4 separate regions of the Homo sapiens genome follow, and all the other regions are linked to region 1. Evidence: promoter capture Hi-C in human tissues and cell types (Jung and others, 2019). All regions are on one chromosome and are shown on one strand. The core of a region is centred on a gene start or on the middle of the fragment in contact, and the rest is flanking DNA. Distances in the headings are between cores, read along the strand shown.

The links. The method cuts DNA at HindIII sites, captures the fragments that hold promoters and counts their contacts. A contact is called where the count stands out against the background at its distance.
Region 2: a contact is called between a fragment that was not itself captured here and the fragment with the promoter of NKX2-2 in region 1, in 2 of the 25 tissues and cell types used here (dorsolateral prefrontal cortex and lymphoblastoid cells).
Region 3: a fragment that was not itself captured here is called in contact with the fragment with the promoter of NKX2-2 in region 1 in 1 of the 25 tissues and cell types used here (lymphoblastoid cells).
Region 4: a contact is called between a fragment that was not itself captured here and the fragment with the promoter of NKX2-2 in region 1, in 5 of the 25 tissues and cell types used here (H1 embryonic stem cells, aorta, heart right ventricle and 2 more).

The regions. Positions count from the first base shown.
Region 1 is chr20:21,512,678-21,515,461 of GRCh38, reverse strand. NKX2-2 (NK2 homeobox 2) reads left to right here and starts at 1,398. Exons shown (of 2, transcript NM_002509.4): 1 at 1,398-2,051. The coding sequence starts at 1,793. The HindIII fragment of the contact is 15,862 bases long and covers 1-2,784 here.
Region 2 is chr20:21,001,074-21,003,857 of GRCh38, reverse strand. No RefSeq gene overlaps it. Among named protein-coding and RNA genes, the nearest start is that of LINC03083, 32 kb to the right of the region's middle. The HindIII fragment of the contact is 5,523 bases long and covers 1-2,784 here.
Region 3 is chr20:21,021,106-21,023,889 of GRCh38, reverse strand. No RefSeq gene overlaps it. Among named protein-coding and RNA genes, the nearest start is that of LINC03083, 52 kb to the right of the region's middle. The HindIII fragment of the contact is 5,260 bases long and covers 1-2,784 here.
Region 4 is chr20:21,145,560-21,148,343 of GRCh38, reverse strand. KIZ (kizuna centrosomal protein) reads right to left here. Exons shown (of 13, transcript NM_018474.6): 4 at 2,690-2,779. Among named protein-coding and RNA genes, the nearest start is that of KIZ, 21 kb to the right of the region's middle. The HindIII fragment of the contact is 4,353 bases long and covers 1-2,784 here.

The DNA of each region.
Region 1 (2,784 bases), core at 149-2,648:
ACTTAACCTGGAAACGTGGAGCGCGTACTCCGAACGCACCCAAGGCGTCCAAAAAGAGACCACACTAAAGAACTCGCGTGGGAGAAGAAAACTGGGGAGAAAACGAGGCATCGTCGGGCCACCCAGCGACCCCCCTCCCCCGCAGCTTTCTGGGTCTTCACCCAGGCTGGAGACACAACCCCCACCCCCACCCCCGCAATCCCGCCCCGCCGCCTTCCCGCTGCTCCACCTCTAGCCAGAGGCTGGAGAGGGAGGGGGCCGGAGAGGGAGGGATAATAGAGGGCAGGAAAGAGCAGGGCCGTCTGCCCTTTCCTCCACCCGGGGAAAGAGGCCCGCAGAGCCCAGAGGCAGCAGGGCCAGGGTCCGACCCCAGACGAAGTTGGAGCTCCTCACTCTTACCCCGCCCTCCCCGGGACCGCCCGCAAAGCAGAAAGTGAACTGCGCGTCCTCCTTGGCCGCAGAGAGGTGGAGGCGGGGGGTTGGGGGTGGGAGGTGGGGGGAGGCGGAGTGAAGGAAATAAATGAGTCTTTAGCAAATAAAGGGCGGCTGGAAGGGGGCGGGTCGCTTGGTGGTGGCTCTGGCCGGCCCGGAGCGGAGCTCTCTCCTGGGTTTTGGGCTCTCTCGCGGTTAACTGGAATCAATTACTTGCCTTGTCATTTCTAGCACTCATCCTTAAGCCTCAACCAAAATATTGACCTAGGAGGCTTACAGAAGTTGGGCTCTTGCCATTTGAACCGGATCTTGTTTAGGCAACCACCAACGATGGAAAGGAGAGATTTCCGCAGCTCGGCCTTCGCCCCCTCCCCCTTTTCCAAAGGCGCCACAAATCGCCAATTTTCCGGCTTGCCGGGGGTGGGCGCGCGGGGGCGGGGAGGTAGGAACCGGTGAATGTTAAAGAGGATTTTTTCCCTCCTCCTGGTTTCTGTTTTGTTTTCTCCCCTCCTCCTCCCCACCCCCACCTTTTTTAAGATGCAATTTGTTAAAACGGCCCTTTCAAGTGTGTGGACTCGCGAGCGACGCGGTGGCCCTTTGTATGTAAATACTGGGTTTAAAAAAAAAAAGGCTCGCCCCGTCTTTGCAATTAATTGACACGTTACACCTCTCATCTTGCTCTAGAGGGCCGTTGGCTGGGAGCGCGGAGCTCCCCAAAACCCACAATTTCACATCTGCAAATACTGTCTTCATCCACTTGACTCCCAAGACCCGCCCACACGTGGCCAACCTTTGCGTTTTTAATGTCTCTTCCCCCTTTTTTCCACCCTTCTCCCGCTCCCTCTCTCGCTCCCCCTCCCTCCCTCTTTCTTTCCCTCCCTCCCTCTCTTTCTCCCCCTCTCCCCGCCTCCCCAGGTTCGTGAGTGGAGCCCAGCCTTATATGGACTGATCGCTCGGGCAATGGCCCATTTTTTCCTCGCCACCAGCCGCCACCGCGCGCCGAGCGGCCGCCGGAGCCCGAGCTGACGCCGCCTTGGCACCCCTCCTGGAGTTAGAAACTAAGGCCGGGGCCCGCGGCGCTCGGCGCGCAGGCCGCCCGGCTTCCTGCGTCCATTTCCGCGTGCTTTCAAAGAAGACAGAGAGAGGCACTGGGTTGGGCTTCATTTTTTTCCTCCCCATCCCCAGTTTCTTTCTCTTTTTAAAAATAATAATTATCCCAATAATTAAAGCCAATTCCCCCCTCCCCTCCCCCAGTCCCTCCCCCCAACTCCCCCCTCCCCCGCCCGCCGGGGCAGGGGAGCGCCACGAATTGACCAAGTGAAGCTACAACTTTGCGACATAAATTTTGGGGTCTCGAACCATGTCGCTGACCAACACAAAGACGGGGTTTTCGGTCAAGGACATCTTAGACCTGCCGGACACCAACGATGAGGAGGGCTCTGTGGCCGAAGGTCCGGAGGAAGAGAACGAGGGGCCCGAGCCAGCCAAGAGGGCCGGGCCGCTGGGGCAGGGCGCCCTGGACGCGGTGCAGAGCCTGCCCCTGAAGAACCCCTTCTACGACAGCAGCGACAACCCGTACACGCGCTGGCTGGCCAGCACCGAGGGCCTTCAGTACTCCCGTAAGTAGCAAAACTTGGCTGCCGAGGCCGTGGTCCCCTCCATTCCTGCAGCCGCAGCCCGGGTTGGACGCTGGGAGTGAAAGGGGAAGGGGCCATGTAAGCCCGGACCCCCTCACTCGGATCCGTAGAAAGATTTTTAACACCTGTATAGGATGTCCTCTGCCCTCCTCTTCAAGCCTCCTTAGTTCCGGGAAAGAACTTGGTCTCCAAAATTTTTTTCAATGCGAGAAGTTAAGGAGAAAGAGGGAGAAGGGCTATACCTCCCAGGGGCTGGTATATGATGTCAACCCGGACCGATGGCTCCAGCCGCAGCCCCCGGACTCCGGCCGCTGGGAGGGACTGGCCTGGCGCCCTGGAGGTAGCCAGCGAGCCTCGTCCGGGTACGGGTGGAGGGTGGGGAGGCTTCGGGTGGCCCGGGTATAAATAGCTCACCCTGCCCCCTGCGCGATCATAGAGGACGCTTTGTGCAGTGCAGGGGGTGTCTAGAAGGCCCGAAAGCAGAAACGAAAGCCCCCAAAAACCTGCCTTAAATGGCCGAGCCGATCAATGCTGGGATTGTGGGGTATTTCTTTTAAAAATCTGCCCACGTCTCGCCGGAGAGGAAACCGCTTAAGGGCGCCGGAGCCCTTAACCCGCGATGATCTTCAGTGCCACTTCCCCCCCCAAATTCTCACCCACACTATGTGAGCCCCTTGAAAGGCGAGCCCCTAGCCCCCACTCCTACGGATTTCCC
Region 2 (2,784 bases), core at 113-2,612, 510 kb after region 1:
TTAGCTTCCCAGCTAGCAAGAAAGGTTAAGAGAAACACAAATTCTACTATGCAGTGGCACCAAGTATAAACCATTAGTTATTAAAATACTCTCCCTTTTCAATGAATCATCTTGGCCTTATAAGGGACAGCTTATTCCTTCAGGTCACTGTCTCAGAAGCCTTATCCTGTTAACGGGAAGGAGTCACCCCAGAGTTGGGTACCATCTTGGGCCCTAGAAAAGTTTCTCTGGGATGGAAAGTTTATAAGGGTTCTGAAGAGGAGACTAGCTCTCCCGGTAAGGATAATGTGGGAAGTCATCACGTGGAGGAATAAACAGTAGGACCCAAAAGTACCAGTTAGGTTGCTTGTGGTGGCTTAAAAACTCATCCGAAAATTATTTGAAACTCCTCCTATCAAGAGGTGAAGTCTATATCCCCTCCCTTTGAAGGAAGGGCCCACCTTTGTAACTACATGATGAATAGAATTTGGGGAAAGTGAGACTGTGTGACTTCCAAGGCTGGGTTAGAAAACGCCTTGTCTTTTCTTTGGAAACATTCTCTCTGGAGGCCTTTGGCTGCCATGTAAGAGGTCCCACCTGATTTCCCTGAGGCCACTAGATAGATAGACATAGATGGATAATAGATAGATAGGATACATGGATGACAGATAGCTGATAGGTGATTGATAGGTAGATAGATAGAATAGATATATGTGATAGGATAGATACGATAGACATATGGCAGATAGGATAGACATATATGATAGATAGATAGATGACGGGTAGGATAGAGACAGAGAGAGGTGACTGGGGAACCCCAGGTCTTCCTGCCCCCAGGTCTTCCTACCCTGAGCTGCTGAGCCTTCTCAGCCCAGGTGCCAGGCATATGAGTAAAAACACCTTCAAAATGACTCTATGCGCAGCCAGCATCTAATTGCAACCACATGAGAAACCCATGCAAGTATCACCCAGCTAAGCCATTCAACCACCAGATTCATGAGTAAAATAAACGCTTATTTTTCTTTTAAGTGACAATTTTAGGATTGTTTGCTATACAGCAACAGATCTATCTGGTGGCAAGTGACGGAATATCCCACTAAAATGATGTTGAGTTTTCTTTCCGACAGCAAGTCTGGAGGCAGCTTGTTCTGGGGTCCATTCATTCAGCTGCTCGCAGATGTCAGGGCCCTGAGTCAGCTCCTCTGTGGACATTTTTACTTTCTCCTCAGATAGCAAGACAGCTGCTGCAAACCCAAACAGCATATTCTCATTCGAGATCCAAAGGCGGGGTGGCGGGGAGTGGGAGGTGGGGAAGTGGGGATGGTTAATGGGTACCAAAAATAGTTAGAAAGCATATATGAGACCTGGTATTTGCTAGCACAACAGGGCGACTATAGTAAAAACAAATTTAATTGTACATTTAAAAATAACTAAGAGTATAATTGGATTGTTTGAAACACAAATGATAAATGCTTAAGGCGATGGATAGCCTATTTACCCTGATGTGATTATAACACATTACCTGCAAGTATAAAAATATCTACATAACCCATAAATATATATCCACATAACCCATAAATATATACACCTACTATCTACCCACAAAAAAATTTAAAAATCAAATAAAAGATCCAGAGGTGGGCACAACAGAGCATTTTGTCCTACGTGGTGCTCTTTTTATGAAAAGTCTTTCCAAAAACCCCGTTTGCAGACTGCCCCTTGGGTTCCACTGGCCATGACTTAGCTACAAGGAGGCAGGGAAAGAGAATAGCTCATCATTATAGTCTCTTAAGTAGCAGGTGGGCTCTGCCATCATGGAAAAGAGGGCTGGATAGCTGTTGAATGGACAACCAATAGTGTTCTCTAAAAATGAATTTCTAGATAATTGAAGTTACCTTAGGCGAAGTTTTATTTTAATGATTTATAATGAAAATCTAAGTGTTTTTTTTTTGTTTTTTATTTACTTCTGGTTCCTTTAACCACCTGGAGCCAGTTCTGTCCCCATTTGGGGCATGGAATCTACTCAACAGCATGGGGAATTTTTCCAGCCCCTCATGGGCTGCTTGGTTGTTGACTTTGCCATCTGTGCTGAGCCCTGTATTTTCACCCTGGCCTAGTTCTGGACTTCCTTCTTGGTTTAATGTCTGGATCTGCCTGGACCCCAGCATTTGGTACCACCCACAGGTATACAGACTCATGCTTTGAAAACATGCTTTCTGCACTAGTTGTCTATTGCTGCATAACAGATTACTCCCAAACTTACTGACTTAAAACACCTACTATTTATTATCTCACATCTTTTCTGGGGGCCAAACATTTGAGAGTGGCTGAGCTGGGTGGCTCTGGCTTACGGTCTCTCTAGAGACTGCAGTCAAGATGTTGGCAGAGGCTGAGGTCTCCTGAAGGCTTGGTGGGGGCTGGACAATCTGTTTCCAACAGCTCACTCACACAGCTGTTGCCTGGTGGCCTCAGTTCCTCACCTTCCATAGGGCTGCCTGAGTTCTTTAACATGGCAGCAGGCTTCCCCCCAATCAAGCAATCCAGAAAAGAACAGTCAGAAGCCAATTTATCTTTTGGAACCTAGTCAGCAGAAGTGACACACCATCACCTCTGCCATATTCTATTGGCTACACAAACCAACCGTGATTCACTGTGGGAAGAGCCTACACAAGGGTGTGAATCCCAGGACAGGAGGGTTGTGATGGTTAATACTGAGTGTCAACTTGATTGGATTGAAGGGTGCAAAGTATTGAACCTGGGTGTATCTGTGAGAGTGTTGCCAAAGGAGATTAACATTTGAGTCAG
Region 3 (2,784 bases), core at 191-2,690, 490 kb after region 1:
GGGTGGACTAAGACTGTCAGTCCATGAGAGAGCCCTGTGGTTTGGTTGGGTGAGGAATAGTTTCTCCCAAAGAAAGGAGGTCCTGGCTGCTGGAGTGAATGCACACACATAAACATGAGAAGGACGTGTAGGGAATGGGGACAGAGCACAGACAGCATTTACTATACACAAACATACACACACACACACAGACACACACTCATTTAGTCCTCAAAATATTCAAAAGTGTCATTTCGAATACAGTTACCTGTATGGTTAAGAGCAGGCTTTGTCAGATGGTCTGGTGTAATTGGTAGGTAATGAGGCACACCAGGAGAGTCCTAAATACACTATCCAGTCTCCACTGCACCTGAACATGCTTACCACAATTTTGGTTGTTTAAGAATATTAAAAAATTATTTCGGTGGTTCAATAATAAAAGGGAATTTTTAGGAAAATGGGCCTAAGTCTTAGACTCTGTGCATATTTGCCTACACCTTGAGTGTCATATTTAGCTCATGATTCTGTAGGTTGTCTGGGCAGCTCTTCTGGGCTGGGTTGTCCCGGCTGACTCCTGTTGTACTCTTGCCAATGTACATCTGTGGGGTGTCTTGTGACTGGATGACCAAAGATGGCCTCATTCGCAAGTCTGATGGTTGGGCAGGTTGTTAGTTCTTATCCATGTGTCTCTCATCTTCCAGCAGGATAGCTCGGGCTTGTTCACATGGTTATCTCCAAGTGCAGCAAGAGGGCAATGCTAAATGCTTTTCAAGTCTCTGCTTACATCATATGTGTTGATATCCACTGGCCAATCAACAGAGTCCTATGGACAATCTCAGAGTCAGGTCTGGAGGGCACTACCGGGGGCGGGCTTGGGTTACTTCCTTATCATAGGTGGCCACGGCACATATTCAACAGCTCCTTTAATGGTCAGCTTTCCCTATATTTTCATTTGACTTTTAATTCAGTTATGAGATTAACCAATTTTGAGATTATAATATTTTATTTCATTAATTTTTTTGAGATAAAAATCTCGTTCTGGTACCCAGGCTGGAGTGTAGTGGTGCAATCACAGCTCACTGTAGCTTCAACCTCCTGGACTCAAGTGATCTTCCCCGTCAAGCCCCACAAGTAGCTGGGACTACAGGTGTGCACCACCAATGCCCGACTAATTTTTTAAATTTTTTGTAGAGAGAGGGTCTCACTATATTGCCCAGGCTGGTCTTAAACTCCCGGGCTCAAGTGATCCTCCTGCCTTGGCCTACCAAAATGTATTTTTTTAATTAAAAAAATAAAAAATAAGAGTAGCCTTTGGATCCCAACCAGATAAGGACTCTTCTCACCTGGCATTAGATCCCATCATTCTTCACTCAGAAGGGTTGTTTGTCAGGCATTTCCTTTTTCTGTGTGCCTTGGCTGAAGATGTATGAGGAGCTCACATCAATGTGGTTGTTGTTCTGTCAATGAACAGACCAGAATTTGCAAAACAAAATCATGTGGAAGCAAGGTCACTCAAGGTTGGTGAGCGATACTTCACTCCCTTAGGTATGCCCTATATTTTACCCATGATTACTCCTGAAAGTAAATTTTTGGATTAAAAAAATGGACACATTTTAACAAATGTGTAACCAGTAACATTCAACAGGAGGGGTAACCCAAAGAAACTCTTTATGATGCCAAATGTAGACCCAGGTAGTAAGTGCCTTCTTTTTCTTTCTCCCTGATTAAGCGCAAATATATATATATATATATATATATATATATATATATATATATATATATATATATATATATATATAGTCTCTTCTTGAGGAGTAGCAATGTTCTGGTGCTTTCCCCATCAGGAGGAGCAGTTTCTGCTTATGTGCCCTTGTCCAAAACTTGAACGTGTATTTTAAAAATGAGACACCCCCACCCCACCTCTCCCAAACACACAACCCTCAGACTTTACATTTCCCGTTTTCTCTATGTTGAGTCAATGTACCTACTAGTTGTGGAGCTGGTGTTCAGGAATAAATGATACACTGTCCTCAGTCAGCTTTGAATCTGAAGTCTGGGTCAGCAGTTAGGATCAGAGCAGGGGGTGGACCCAGGTCACCTGCACACAATAACATATTTACTCAATGGTAAGCTGGTTTGGGCTATTACTAGAGCAAATGCCACCTGGTTCTGGAAACATGGCAGGTGGCAAAATCCTTGCCTATGTTTAAGGACTGGCTTGGGAAGTAGGGAAAAGACTGAAGCTTAGACAGGCCAGGCAACTGTGGACTCTACAGCCCTCAACTATCCTGGCAGAAATGAGCCAGTGAGCTTAAGACCTCAGTCTGTGACAGACAGCTCCTTATTTGTGAGTAGTTAATGTTTCTTAGCAAGCACTTCTAAAAGAAATTGGTATGTAATGACAGCACTCACTGGAAAACAGGCCGATTAGAAAATGCACTAACTTATCTGGTATTCATTTGAAAAGTAAATGGATGCACGGCAAGGTGAGAGTTCACTATCAATTCAAATATTTTCCCTTAACGGGCTCTAGCACTCCTGCTTTAATTCAAGCAGAAACACAAGTATGAATAATCAAACTAGATGACGCTCATCAAGAACCTTTGTGCCTTCCACCATTTCAAATGGTCATTGAAGCTTAATGGCAAAAAATTTACATTCTTCCTTTAATTTGTATTCTATTCCTTCCTTCTGAGTGATGTGATTGTGGCTTGCTGTTGCCTGCTGTATTATTTTGATGCAAATGCTATGTTGTGTGTAGCTGAGTCCAATTTCCTGGCTTTTGCTAGCAAGAGGAGTGACTGT
Region 4 (2,784 bases), core at 137-2,636, 370 kb after region 1:
TTATATTTAAAAAATGGACACACACCACTTGATGACTTTTCTTGGCATCCAAGTTACTGCCTATGGTTGAAAGCTGTATAGCCACTTAAAAAATACCTTTTTATAATTCAGAATGATCACCAATTTGATAGATCCTCTCCCCTTTGTTAGTGTTTTCCACCTCAATGGCCATCCCCAATACAGGTCCTCCATTCTGTTAATTCCTCCTGTCTGAATGGAGCCTGATTTCCTCAGTTCCACGTACTCCTCCCCAGGCTCATCCTGCACAGCACTGCCAGCCTCATCTTCCCGCAGCTGCACACATGGGATGTGACTGCTCTGCTCACAAGTCCTTCCTTCATCTGCTGCCACACACACACACACACACACACACACACACACAAATTCCAGGAGGAAATCTCAGTTCTTAGCCTGGGACCATAGTTCCAGGTACCAAATCCCACAAGGTAGCTTTCCAAGCTCATTTTCTACCACTGACTGGCATCCTGCACATCCTTCTATGCCAGCTCACACACCACCTCCTCCACCAGGGCTGGGATTACTCAATTCACAGGAAGCAGAATCTTCTTTCTTCTCATTGCTCATGTTTGTCCCACGTGACTGGCACTTTATCACACACTATTCTGTGCCTTAGAAAGAACATTGCTTTCTGAGAAGCACTCTGAAGGTAAGAAAATTGTGGCCTTCATAGAGGGGCCTACTGTTGCTTCTCAAAGAGAACTGATGCTTAACAACTATTTATTGATTCAACCAGTGACTGTACTATGCTTCAGGAAAGGCCCTGGAGGTCAATGACCAAGACCAATTCATATGACTGCCCAAAGAAGAGAAGCTTGGATTTCCACTAAACAATAAGCTATAACTCATATGATAAGGAATGGTTCAGGAATTAGTATAAGGATTAACTAAAACATGATTTTGCTGAAATGTATTTACCTTTTAATTGGTTGAACATCAATGGAAAATTAGAAAATGCAAAATATAAATTTCTCAAAGTGTTACCTAATCGATTCTTATACAGCCAATAGTCAAAGCTTTTAAGGAAATGACACCTTTCCATATAAATGAAAAGACTTCTAATTATTATATGTAACATTTTAAGGGGTTGTCAACTGTATGTCTCTTGCCCTAATTTTAAATATGTCCTAAAAGGAGACTCCACAACTACATGCAAGGTAAAGAATCAGTGGGTAAATAAAGAAAAAAAAAGCTTCCGTTTTCCTGAAGTACCATTGACACTGCCGTGCTAAGAATATGTCTATCAAGAATGGCATAGAAAGAACTAACTGGCTTCTAGATTAAAACACATCAATTATTTCATGACCGAATATCAAATAGAAAAACTGCCTGAATGCTCTAAAATTCTATCACATCATACCACATTTGGCCTACATCGAATGGCATATACGTCATTTATCATTAAAGCCTTTTTATATAGGTCAAGGTTGCTGGGGCTTGGTGTTTTGTATCTTACAGTTTAAAGAATGCTCTAAGTTCTAGGGTTTTTTTTTTAATTTTTTAATCTATGAGGAAGGAAAACGAAAACTTCCTATAAACTCAGATTAATGCCTGCTAATGCACGGAAGAAAGAAAAACTAAAACCTTCCTCCTACTATAAAAACAAAATAGTGTGGCCTCTGTTTCTTTTCTGATAAGAGTCTTAAATACCCAACAGTTAACTGCATAATAACATTTACTGGCAGCCAGGCAGCCTGCTTAGCAGATATATAAAGCAGGTAAAAGGAGAAAAAGTTAATTTCTTGGCTGAATGATTCCATCGGTAGCTATAGGGCAAACCTGAAAGTCTTTTAGTAAAGTAGCAGTTGATTCTTCTATCAATCTGTAGCACACACACTCTTCCAAGGAAAGCATTAAATATGAAAATCATATCCCGTTATCATCTGTTTCCAGCTTTCAGCCCAGTAAGCTTTTCTTAATGAATGCTGCAGCCTAAGGAACAAGCACGCTGTTGGCTTTTCTGAATAATGGAGTGATGCTACCATTTTTGCTTATTACAATATCGACTGGCTGAGGGGGTTTCACACATAGTCACAAGTGACTACTCTTGCCAGCATGCTCCAAGTTATTACAAGATGTTTTTAGACATTTCATCTAAAAGAGCTTTACTGCTTTTAGTGAAGAAAACATCTACGGTCTTGAACAGAATCATTTATATGGAGATAGGCAGGAGGATTAGAAGCCTGCATTATAGCAGATACATAGCAGAATTTATTTAAGTATTCCTTGTCGATCTTTTTGTCTATTGCTTAGATATGCAATCTTTTCTTTCCACGTTTTCTGTGCAAAGGTTAAAATGTACAAAATTATGTATATTCGCACAAATAAAAGAATCAAAATGCCATATTTTGTTTACTTTTCATTTAAAACACTTCTCAAACTAAGAAAAGAGCAGCTACAAGGCATGATTTAGAAAAACAATTTTACCTACTGACAACACTGAGGTTTTCTTTAGAGTCTATCCTTTCTTCACAAAGTAACACCCTTTCAGCAAACTTAATTAAATTAGACATTAAAGCAATATTCTGTAAGCAAAAATCTTTAAATAATCACGTAAGGTTTAATCAAAGGGATCTTCCTAATAAGATGATTTTATTTAAAACAATATCTCAAGATATAAACACTCCAGAATTCCTCTGTTAACAGAAAGGTTACCAATTTAGTTTATTACCTTTTCTCTGTCTTCATCTGTCAGTTCCTCTTTTAGTCCCAGGCTATCTTTTGAGCATAGCATCTTCTTAATTTGAGTCTCATATTCGAGCTAAA